Linked DNA regions of Homo sapiens: region 1 is linked to region 2. Evidence: promoter capture Hi-C in human tissues and cell types (Jung and others, 2019). All regions are on one chromosome and are shown on one strand. The core of a region is centred on a gene start or on the middle of the fragment in contact, and the rest is flanking DNA. Distances in the headings are between cores, read along the strand shown.

Region 1 (5,589 bases), core at 712-3,211, 83 kb before region 2:
TTACTCCATATATTTACATAGTGCTATTGTTGCTATAAACATTTTATAAATCCCTGTTAAAAATGCTTCTAGAATATTTGGGTGCATGTCCTTAAGGGAGGCAAATCTTTGCCCTGTGACAAGATGGAATTGATTTTGCAAGAACAAAGACTATTCAGAATCAAATATGGTGAATAAAGTGGGAGGTCAAAATGGGTAATACTGCTTGGCATCAAAATAAGGTGGGACTGGAAAGCAAGGAGACTGCTTTACTTCTGAGGCCTATAAACCCGTTGAGGAAACACCTCTGAAAGAGAAGTTCCAGAAAGGTTTTGCATAACCACAGCTTTGCTGGAATAAGTCAATTGTAGCCTTCCAAGGTAACTATTTTGAAGAACAGTTCTTACTCATTTACATAAACTTTGGAATTTTTGTTTTTTAAAAATTAGTCATACAACATAGCAGTTATGCCTGAAAGCCCTCTATTAAGGAAATAATGATTTGAGAAAAAAATGCTCAGGAGTTGTCAACAATACGAAAGCTTATTTTAGAAGGCTCATTTTCACTTGCACTTAATGCTGGGATTTAAATGACTTAGAGGGAAGAACTAGGTGAGGCCAGTATGATTTAGTGTCAGTGAGTATGTTAAACACTTTTGTGCAGGCATGAAAGTAAAATTCAAATCTCTTCCTTCAGAAAAGACTTCCCAGTTTGCTTGTCCCCAGCAGCTATCCTTCTTCTTTTAATAAGTGGATGAGTGGGGAGGAAAAGCAGCCCAGTCTTTAAGACTGGAGGCAGATATCCATGTTGTTGGAGCCTAAAGGGCAACCACAATGTTTGCAAATGAAAGCTGACATTGCCTTTTGACATGCAGGCCTGTCCATCCTCAGCTACTTATCAGGGTCAAGTTGACTTTAAATATCCTTGAGAGGGACCATGAGAAGTCAGTGTAGCCTTGCTGGATCATGGTTATTCAACCAGCTATTTCCATGGCTATAATGGAGAGGCTTGGGAGCCCAGATAAATCCCAGTTTCCTTTTCTGGGCCTCAAAGGCAAGCGCCAGACTTTATCTATGGGGACATTCTGCAACCCAAAACAGTCAGAACCCTTCTCAAAATCCTCTGGCGAAGTACCCACCTATCATCAAGCTGCTGTTGTTGGCTCTGAAGTGGTAAAGCAAATATCCACTTATATAATAAAGAGGGGAAGAGCAGAGGGAGATAAATCTCCAATTTCCAGATGTAAATGGTATCTATACATATTCACCTGTGAAAGATTAGGAAATGGAAACATTAGCTTATTTGATTTTCTTGCATCTAGTAATAAGTATTCAGTGATCTTGTGTGCCAAGCACTATCTGAAGTACCTTACATACATTTATTCATTTAATCTGTGAAGCAACTTCATGAAGTAGAAACCATTTTCATTATTTTACAGTTGAAAGGAGGCTTAGGGAAGTTATATAACTTGTCCAAGGTCACACAGTTTAAGTAGCACAGTTATGATTTGAACTCAGTGTATCAGACTCTCAAGCCTTCCATATAGCTTCCCAAAAGCAGATTACAAGAACCAGGCAAGGCACAGAATTTCACAGTAAAGCTTGTCCCTGAACATATGACCTTCAGATTAATAGTGGGACATGTAAATCATTATAGCCACAGAGAAACTTTAAAAGGAAAACAAAAAATACAAAATTAACCCTGATTTATTGGTGGCTAAGGACAGTTAGTTGCCCATGTATATTTGTGAAATGACTTATACAGGAGGCAATGCTACCATGATCTGTAAATTCTTAGATATGAACAAATATAGAATCATTTTGAATACAATAAAAATCTTTGTATTTCTAGCATCTTATAAATTACCAATGGCTTTTACATATCTTATCTCTTTTAATCCCCACAACAGCCCTGTGAGCCAGTCATTCTTGGCCTCATGTTATAGATGACAATTTTGAAGCTTAAAGAGGTTAAGTGACATACCCAAGATCACACAACTAGCAAAGCTGAGGCTCAGACTCAGGCTTTTTGACTCAAATGTGGCTTGTCTTTTACCAAACCACTTACCTCTCTACTGGGTTGTTTGGCTTTTCTCCAAAGCCAGGTAGAAGTTTTTCACATTGAGGTTTTTCAGAAATTCTTACTTAGATATTTCATCTTTCTGTAAAAGGCAGATTTATTGGCCCACAAATTTGGGGAGCCATATTCATTTTTATATTTGGCATAGCTTATGCCCAGGTCCTCTCCATAAGGGTGTACTTTTATCGAGTTAGAATTGTTGAGTTAGATTTAGATGTGTATATAGAATGTTCAAAGTAGCTTCCCACAGTCCGGTTTTCTCTTGGGGGTGAGGAGTTCCAGGCCTCCGAAGCCAAACCGTTCAGAATTGGTAGCCAAATACACCATTGACTGCAGCAGAGCAATGCAATTGCTGAACATTCCCCTTATACAAGATCAGTTTTGAATAAATGCATGGAAACACGATAAGCTAAGAGGCTCAATTTATCTTTGCTTATTAGTAGCTCTAGCCAGCATATGACCCGTAGTCTCTATGAACAACTCTTCTGATGGATTTTATATGCCTTGTGTGATGTGAAAGATGAGTAAACAAACCCTTTATTGGAAATACATGAGGTTTTGTGGGGGGAAGTAGGAAAGAATGTGTCAAATTGTGATAAGTGATACTGTGTAGAGTATTTCTGATTGAACATCCAGTAACTAACCTTTTAAGCTTCCGGTTTTTTGTTGGTAGCAGGCAGGAGAAAATAACCAGAGGAATGTGGATTGCTTGCAGCTAACCGGGACCTGTTCATCTGGTTAGTTTCTTTTCTCCCATGCTCTTGAGGAAAGGTATTACTCTTGGATTCCAGTTGGCCAAGAGGAAGGTTCAAGCTTTTTTTTTTTTTTTTTTTGAGATGGAGTTTTGCTCTTGTTGCCCAGGCTGCCGTGCAGTGGCTCAAACCAGCGAAGGCTCACTACAACCTCCGCCTCACAGGTTCAAGCGATTCTCCTGCCTCCTGAGTAGCTGGGATTACAGGTGCACACCACCATGCCCGGCTAATTTTTTTGTATTTTTAATAGAGACGGGGTTTCACCATGTTGGCTAGGCTGGTCTCGAACTCCTGACCTCAGGTGATCTGCTCGCCTTGGCCTCTCAAAGTGCTGGGATTACAGACGTGAGCCACCGTGCCTGGCCGAAGGTTCAAGCTTTTAAATCCAAATAGAATCTAGTGATTAGATTGATGCAGAAATTTAAACTGTACTTGGGCATCACTTGCTTCCATTGGCTCACCAGTGATTGTAGCTGATACAGTTATGTGACAAAAGATTCATTCATTTAGCAAACAAATCAGAGGTGCTTATTGTGTGTCAGGCACCAGACATTGATTTTTCTTTTTAGACATTGATTTTATATTAACTATTAGTTTCCATGTTACTTTACCTTGAATTGGGTCAGTAGATGAGAAATTTTCCTGGGGAGACACACTCTTCAGAAAAGGTCTAATTTAGGGAGGTGTTTTGAATAAGATTAATTTCCCAAATTTCAACAAAACTTTGTCCAAGAACATCATACAAAGTGTCTACCCTACGCTTTTATTCCAATCATCAAATCCTTTAGAGAGATTCCAAGGATTATGTTTCACTGAGACTGATTTTATTTGCTAATGCCAATTTTGGGATTCAATCAGTTTAAATTAGAAATCTGGAAGGGCCCTTCAGGATTGGAGACTAGATTGGTTTCTAGCTAGACACTCCCACCTTTGCAGTTTCAGGGTAAACTTTCTTTCCCAAGAAATAAAAGCATGTATTAAGAATGCTGCTTCTGCCAAGACTCTGTGTAGACCCAGCCACCATTGCCAGATAGTCTGAAAAAGTATAAAAAAATTAGCCGCCCCTCAGTGTGTGGTCATGAAGCAGGGCCAGGGGCACTCTTTAGGTATACAGCATAAAGTATGTCATAGATAGTAAATACTGGAGTTTAGAATCCATTTGTAAAGAACTGTCAGCTTGAGTGTATTAAGGCACAAAAGCAACTTCTGAAACACAGGCTTGATATTTGTTGCTGGGGCTCTGAATCATTTTGGAGTACCAGGACACTTAGCAATAGGTGGGATTATTTTTTCAGGGAAAATAATGGTGTTCCATTCTTAGGGTCATAGATGACTAGAAAAAGAAAGGTCCAAGGCTTAGAAGAAAGATCAGCTATAGATTGGAAATAAGCTGAAAGCCAGATATCCCTCTCACAGATTGGCACAGCTCCATGTAGAAGGTCTGCCCAGTGTGTTGAGGTGGGGCGAGAAGTTGGCATTGCTGACATTGCGCTTCTCCTTGCTGTAATTTCAGACCCGGATGCAGAGTCTACAGCCTGACCCAGCTGCCCGCTATCGCAATGTGTTGGAGGCCCTCTGGAGGATTATAAGAACGGAGGGCCTATGGAGGCCCATGAGGGGGCTGAACGTCACAGCAACAGGCGCAGGGCCTGCCCACGCCCTTTATTTTGCCTGCTACGAAAAGTTAAAAAAGACATTGAGTGATGTAATCCACCCTGGGGGCAATAGCCATATTGCCAATGGTATTGAGCCTTCCTGTGCTGGTTCCCCCACTTTCCCAACTCTTTGGGCTTTGCTGCTGTCAGTGCTTTCCAGTCTCAGCATGGTTTGGAGCTGAAGCTTTGGGCTGGGATAGGCCAGATTATAAGGGAGGGACTTCCAAACCTGATGTTCTCAGACAACGGGCCGCTTCAACCCTGCCTTTTCCTTTGGGGCACCTCAACAAAGGGTTACAGTATCCTCCCTTACCTACCAGCTTGACTTGTTCCTCTCATCTCCCTGGCATCAACTTCTAATGCCCTGGTAATGTGGAGACACACTGAACTACCCCCAGTCTATGTTTGACAGTTGGGTGGTGTCCTGCTCCTTAGGGCAGGATTGGAGGCGACCCAGCCAGCCACCCAAGGAAGATACTAATGAAGCCCCTGCTTTTTGCCTCACCTTTTCAGGATCCCAACTCACCAGAGGCAGTTTGTGTTGAGAACATGACAAAGCCTCATGACAAAATGAATGGGGGTGGGGCCAAGGAACTGCATGAAGAAACCAGAAGGTTGTGTGGAAGTAAGAGAAAGGATAGCAGCCTAGGGCTTTAGGACCGGCTGGAAACCAAGTTGAGTGTGGAGAGGATGAGGGGTAGAGTAGTTCAGGACCTGAACGAAAGATCTTTGTAGACAAATGTTAGGCTCTGCAAATGGGTTCTGCGGCAGGACTGAGGTGGGATTCTGTGGTGAGGTTCTGTGAGATCTGACCACCTGGCCCCCGTATCTCCCTCCACTGGTGGCAGGTGATGTGCTGGCATCCCTAGGCAGCAGTGTATCTGCTTCCTGTCTGGGGTGTGAGCTGCATTTATTCTCAGAATGATCTTTATTGATAAGACTTGAGCTGGCCTTCCTATCATGGATGTGGAATACATTAGTGACCTTACAAAGTTGGTGGGAACAGATACTTTACCTTCTTAAACAGGAGTTTAGGAGCAGTGGGTCCCCATCTTTTGGACTAGCTCTTAACGTTACTTTTCCCCGCTGTAGTGTAGCACAGCCACTCCCCTTCACTGGGGGAC
Region 2 (5,417 bases), core at 651-3,150:
GGCGCTGTGGGACCCTGAGACAGCCCCAGTACCCAAAGAACGCCCTTAGCAGGCGGAGGCGCGTTTCGTGGAGAGGGGTAGTTAGTGCGTGTTTATTTGGATCTTGAGCATCTGCGAGAGAAGAGATTACTCTGTATTAAATATGCGGCTCGACGTGCTAATGACTATTTTCAGGATGAAGGCTTGCAACTACATAATAACTACAGTATTTGCAAACTCGTTTGCATTCTACTCCACCAAGGATAACTGAAGGTGTGAGGCGTGTTGGTATGAGTGGGCCGGTGGGCATGGGTTGCGCGAAAATCTGTTCTGAGTGTAACGCTTGTGCATGGCTCAGGGACTTGTGTGTGTGTGTGGCTTATAAAAGACTACAAGCGAATGTTATGACGACATCTGTGTGCACTTTGAAAATGAAGTTTGATTGACTAGTTATAGACAGTTTCATGCCGATTTTCGGCTCTGGGAACTATGAGAGCATAGGCCTTGGCCTCTGCCACATCAAACCGCCTCTTGGGGAAAGACTGTGATTCTGTCCTCTTAAATACACTTCCTTGGGGACTTTATTTGATTATCCCATCTCCCTATCAATTCACTTCCCATCCGATGTGAGCAGCCAAGATCTCGGACTCAAGTTCGGCGCGTTTTCTATTAGGCCCGCAGCCTGGGACACAAAGCAAAACGTTACGGATTTTCAAAAAAGGCTGGCGCCTTAGGGATGTGAGAGCTATGGTCGCGCGGAATAGACATTGTTCCCACGCACTTTCCGATCATCTCCTCTCTCTCTACCGAGTGCCACGGGTTCAAGGACGCTGAGCTCCAAGCAGAGAAGGGAGGAAACCGCCCAGCTGGCCTCCACCAAAGTTCCTGCCCCTGCGGGTGCGAGAGACACAGGCTGCTTGGGCTGTCTTTTCGGAGAAGAAGGGGTGGCTGCCCTGGGCTAAGAGAACTCATCTCACCCTAGAGGGAAAACGAAAAAGGTCCAGGCTCCTGCCCTTTTTGGGGGAAGAGCCTTTTGGGGCGGGGGGAAGAGCAAAAATACTGCCAGTTATGAGGACCCAGGCGCTGAGCCCACGTCGCCTCTCAGCATCAGGGCAGCAGTAACCACCTTCCCTTCCCTCATTTCCCCCTTTTGGGGGGAGTAGTTGTCAGGGTCACCTCGTCCTTGTCTCTCCACCCCGGCTCCCTTGCAGGTACCTGCGCTTTGTGGAGCTGTCGGTGACCAGGGCGGAGGCATGGCCCCAGCCAAAGGGTAAAGGGATGGGCAGCTGCGCTGGCAAGGTCTGTGGGCTGTTTGTGTGCGCTCTGCCATTGCTCCAGGTGTGCGGGTGCGTTTTCTTTCCCCCTCTACTCACTTTGGCTCCGGTCCCTCACGACCTCGGGCTCCTCTTCATGTTCCTTGGGCTCGCTGCACGAGTCTCGCAGGACCGTGTGGACATAGCCCTGGGGACACAGCCCTGAATCCCCGTGGCCGTCTGCTGCGGCTAGTGAGTTCAAATAGGACAATTTCTCGCCCTCGTCTTCCTCGTCCTCCTCCCCTCCGTCAGAAAATTGCGTCCCCTCAGCGGCGGCCAGCATGCAGGGCGCAGAGTGGAAGTGGTGCTCCAAGTCCGCCTGCAAGTGCGCACCATGGAAGTGCTGGTGCTGCTGCTCCAGATTCAAAATGTCTTTGACTGAGAAAGGGGTGGAGGTGACCGGGCTTGGTAACATCATCAGGGCCACTTAATTGTCCAGTCCAAATAATAAATCCCGGCGGGGGCGGGGAGGCAGCGCGGCGGCTCCAGCTCTCCTCCTGGACTCCGCCGCTGCTGCCGAGTCGGGCTTTTGACAGACGCGGTCCCACTCCAGTCTAAATCGCCTCCATTGGCCGGGACCTGGGGGTCTGGGTTTTGTTACAGCCACTGCAGGGACTGGGGCCCGGGCTCCTAAGCCTCTGTCCGGGAGATTTGCGTCACGTTGGGGGGGCGGGGCTGGCGCCCCAACCTCCCTCCCTATAGGTTCTGGCTCATGTGGGCCACGCCCCCTGCTCTCTGCGAGTGGGATGTTGCGGCTCTACCAGAAATAGACAAGGACTAGTATAGAGTCCTGAAGTCCGAGACGCTGCGGGCGAGGCTGCACAGATCCGGTTCCTGAACCATTGATTCCCGCGTGGCTGCACCTTCCCGACCTAGGCCAGTTCTGGGAGGCTTGCTGTCCACGAACCAACGCCAGGGAAGGATGCCCCAGGAGTGTGTTTTTTTCAGCTGCTGCGCGGGGCAGGAAAACTTCCTGGCGGGTAAATACTGGGCGCTGGATCCACGAGGAGATGCAGTGTTTTATCTATCTATGGGTGGGCGACATGTCCTTTTTCAACTTGTTGCCTTTGCTCAAGCTTTCTCTCCACTTGGAACATGTTTCTGACACTTAGCCTCCACGAGTGGAAACTGTTCTCCAAGGAAGAGCTCCTAGATCGTCTAGCCGGAAGTCCCCTCTTTCAGGCTCTGAACCTGCAGCTTGTGTTAGCAAAGGACATGCATGTCACTTATCACTTCCCACTTAATTCTATAGCTGTATGTGCCTGCCTGGTCGCCCCAGTTAGACTGTAAGCTCCATGAGGGCAGTGTCCCGGGGTTGCTTTTGCCCTTGTATCCCTGGCAGCAGCCGCACAGAGCAGTATGTGAAAGGAAGATAGAGTTATGACTAAACTTTGGTATTCGACAGCTCTTGCTTGGCCTAGTCAGTGTGTGATCTTCGGCGTTTCTAAGTCTGTTTTCTCGTCTATAAAACGAAGGCAGTAATACCTTTTTTGGTTGTTGCTAGGGTTGAATGAGGCAAAACATGCCAGAATCTTAGTGCACGGCCTCACGCGTGTTAAGCGCTCAGTACGTGTCAACGACTGCTTTTCTGTATGGGAGGTCAAGCAGTGTTTGTTGACTGCATTGGTGGTGCGTGGCTGGAGTGTGGCACATACTGAGAGCAGGATCTGTCCTCACAAGGGAGGTGACCCAGCCTTGGCAGCCTTCTTTTCCACCTATTGAAATCAGGAGCCTGAATGTAGGCCTTGCCTCTCCGACAGGCTTTTAAAATTTCTCTACCTACACGCCTTCTGGCACCTTCATGAGGCCCTGGTTGTTTTCTGGGGGAGTCTATACAGTCCCCCACAGATTCTGGAAACTCTGAGCTGGAAACTCTGGGACCATCTTCTCCCACAATAGGCATTTGCTCGCTACCAGGCCTAGCCCAGTGAGGAGCAGCGGGCGCTGCTTTGAGGGCCACAGAAAGACCCGTGTGCAGCGCTGGCCTTAAAAAAATAGGGAACGGTTCCAGCTCAACCGTGGCTGTCCTCATCCGGCCCCAGCCAATCCAAGCATTTTTTGGCGGTCAGGATGGCGGAGCTGAAAGAGACCCGTCTCACCTGGAAGGGGCAGGTGAAAGGTGCAGGGACGGTGGACATTGCCTCCGAGCGGCATAAGACACCGGCTGGGAGTGGGTACGAGGGTGGAGGGCTGCCACGCGGGTCCCGCAACGGCGACAGGAGTGGGTGCCCAAGGTTGAAGGGAGAAAGAACAGCCTGTCGGGAGGTGGGAGAGGCGGGGCTCTGCAGAAGGGAGCGGAACTGTTGTGGAGAGGCAGCCCCTGGGTCCGCCCGGGGAGCTGGGATGCCGCGCGGGCCACGTGCGCCCCGGAGTACTTAGGGTAGCGGCGGCCCGCAGGCAGTAGGGAGAGACCCTCTGTGGGCAGGGTCTTGTGCTGGAACCGCCATTCCTCAGCCACAGGGGCGCCCGGTGTCTTTCTGCTTTAAATCCTGAAACTATTGACGCCCCAGGCGGAGACCAGTGTCTACAAACCAGGCGGTGAGTCTGCAGAGGGAGGAATGTGCCTGGTTTTGCCGTGGATCCCGAGCGCTCGGGCACAAAAATTCCGAGGTGGGGGCAGAGGGGTGCACGGCACTGCGGGGTGGCGGACCTCGAGTGTGTGTGCATCACGGTGGCCGCCGAGCATAAAAGCAGGAAGCTGAGCTCCAGCGCCACTTCCCCACCCCACCTCCGGGGCAAAACTGTCTCAGGGGAAATGTTTCTGCTCTCTTCTAGTCCCCAGTTTTCTTCTCCTCGGTGATTTCATGATTCTGGAAAAAGAAAAGGAGAAAGGCTATCGAAACAATCTCTCTCTCCCCAGTTTCCAACCGAAGCCTGCATTTCTCCTTGTTACATTCCCTTGCTTCCCATCTCGCTTCGCTCCTAGGCCTTTCATAAATCTAGCCCAACAATCCAGGTCTTAAAACTGCGACCAGGACAAAGCGCCCCTCCAGCGCCTGATCGCCAATACACGCCCACAGACGCTCTGCAGCCGCCGGAGCCCACCAGGGCGCCTCTGTGAGCTCATGCAGGGGGCTGTCTCCTCCCCACCAGCCGGCCCACGGGTGCCCCTCTACCCCAAATTCCGCCGCCCCAGCCGCTCCCGGGCCAGGTACCTTGCGCCAGGCCTAAGCGGTTGTCTCTTGAGGACCCTGGGCAGGTTGCTCCTCAGTAGGCCACCAGGGCCTGTGAGGACTTCCAGGCGAAGGGGCCTAGCGGGCGGCGCCTAGACCTTATCGCCGCTTCCTTTCCTCATACCCAGCCCAGTGTAGTGCTGTTCCAGCCTGCGGAAAACCTCTATCCGCTACCGCATCCCTAAGGTTGATCTGAGTTTTATGCCCAGAGCAGGAGTTTGGGTTGTCTCCAGCTACCCCCTCAGTATTGTTCAGACTCCCTTGGTCTGGTTCCCCAGTGGCGTGCTTCCCCGCAGGGATCCCCGCCAGGCCAATCTCATCTAGGTGGCCTCCTTTTCCCGCGCGCGCAGCCTGTACCCTCGACGGCCGCGGGCCTGAAAGGAGGAGAACTCGAGAGCCGTAGTTGTACAGCAGCAGTCGCTCCGCAGGAGTCTCTTATCAGAGTGGGATCTGGTTCCAACGCCTATCCAGTTACCATCGCCTTCTGGGGCATTTGCATTCTCTTGTCTGAAAAGTAGATCTTTGAAATCCTCGAGCTGTGCTCTACTAATAATAGGTTTTCGTTCCAGACAGTTTAGCTAATTACTGTCAGATAAAGTAAGTATGGCTGCATCCATGGAAGCGTTTGATTTTATTTTAATCGAGTGTATCTGCCTTCCTACCCTTTCATCACCTCATACATTTATACAAGCTCTCTCCCCCACCCTATGATTAAAGATCATCAGTAAATGGTGGCAAAGTCCTTGAAGGGGAAGTGCTGTATAGATGCCTAAACGTCTGTACCTTTTTTTTTTTTTAAGGAAAACCACATGCTAGCCATTACAATAAATGCATTATCAAATGAAAAATGTGACAATTTTTTGAAAACTGTTAAGTGTTCTCATAGCTGTTATTGTCTACACAAAGATTGCTTAATGCACATATAAATATAGGCAGATAATGGATAATTTTA

Evidence for each region. The method cuts DNA at HindIII sites, captures the fragments that hold promoters and counts their contacts. A contact is called where the count stands out against the background at its distance.
Region 1: a fragment that was not itself captured here is called in contact with the fragment with the promoter of NKX2-3 in region 2 in 3 of the 25 tissues and cell types used here (H1 embryonic stem cells, bladder and neural progenitor cells).

What each region holds. Positions count from the first base shown.
Region 1 is chr10:99,612,659-99,618,247 of GRCh38, reverse strand. SLC25A28 (solute carrier family 25 member 28) reads left to right here. Exons shown (of 4, transcript NM_031212.4): 2 at 4,324-4,552. Among named protein-coding and RNA genes, the nearest start is that of SLC25A28, 5.0 kb to the left of the region's middle. The HindIII fragment of the contact is 3,914 bases long and covers 5-3,918 here.
Region 2 is chr10:99,529,425-99,534,841 of GRCh38, reverse strand. NKX2-3 (NK2 homeobox 3) reads right to left here and starts at 1,900. Exons shown (of 2, transcript NM_145285.3): 1 at 1,353-1,900. The coding sequence starts at 1,710. LINC01475 (long intergenic non-protein coding RNA 1475) reads left to right here and starts at 3,665. Exons shown (of 5, transcript NR_120618.1): 1 at 3,665-3,830. RefSeq lists an enhancer at 1,679-2,570. The HindIII fragment of the contact is 5,212 bases long and covers 1-4,582 here.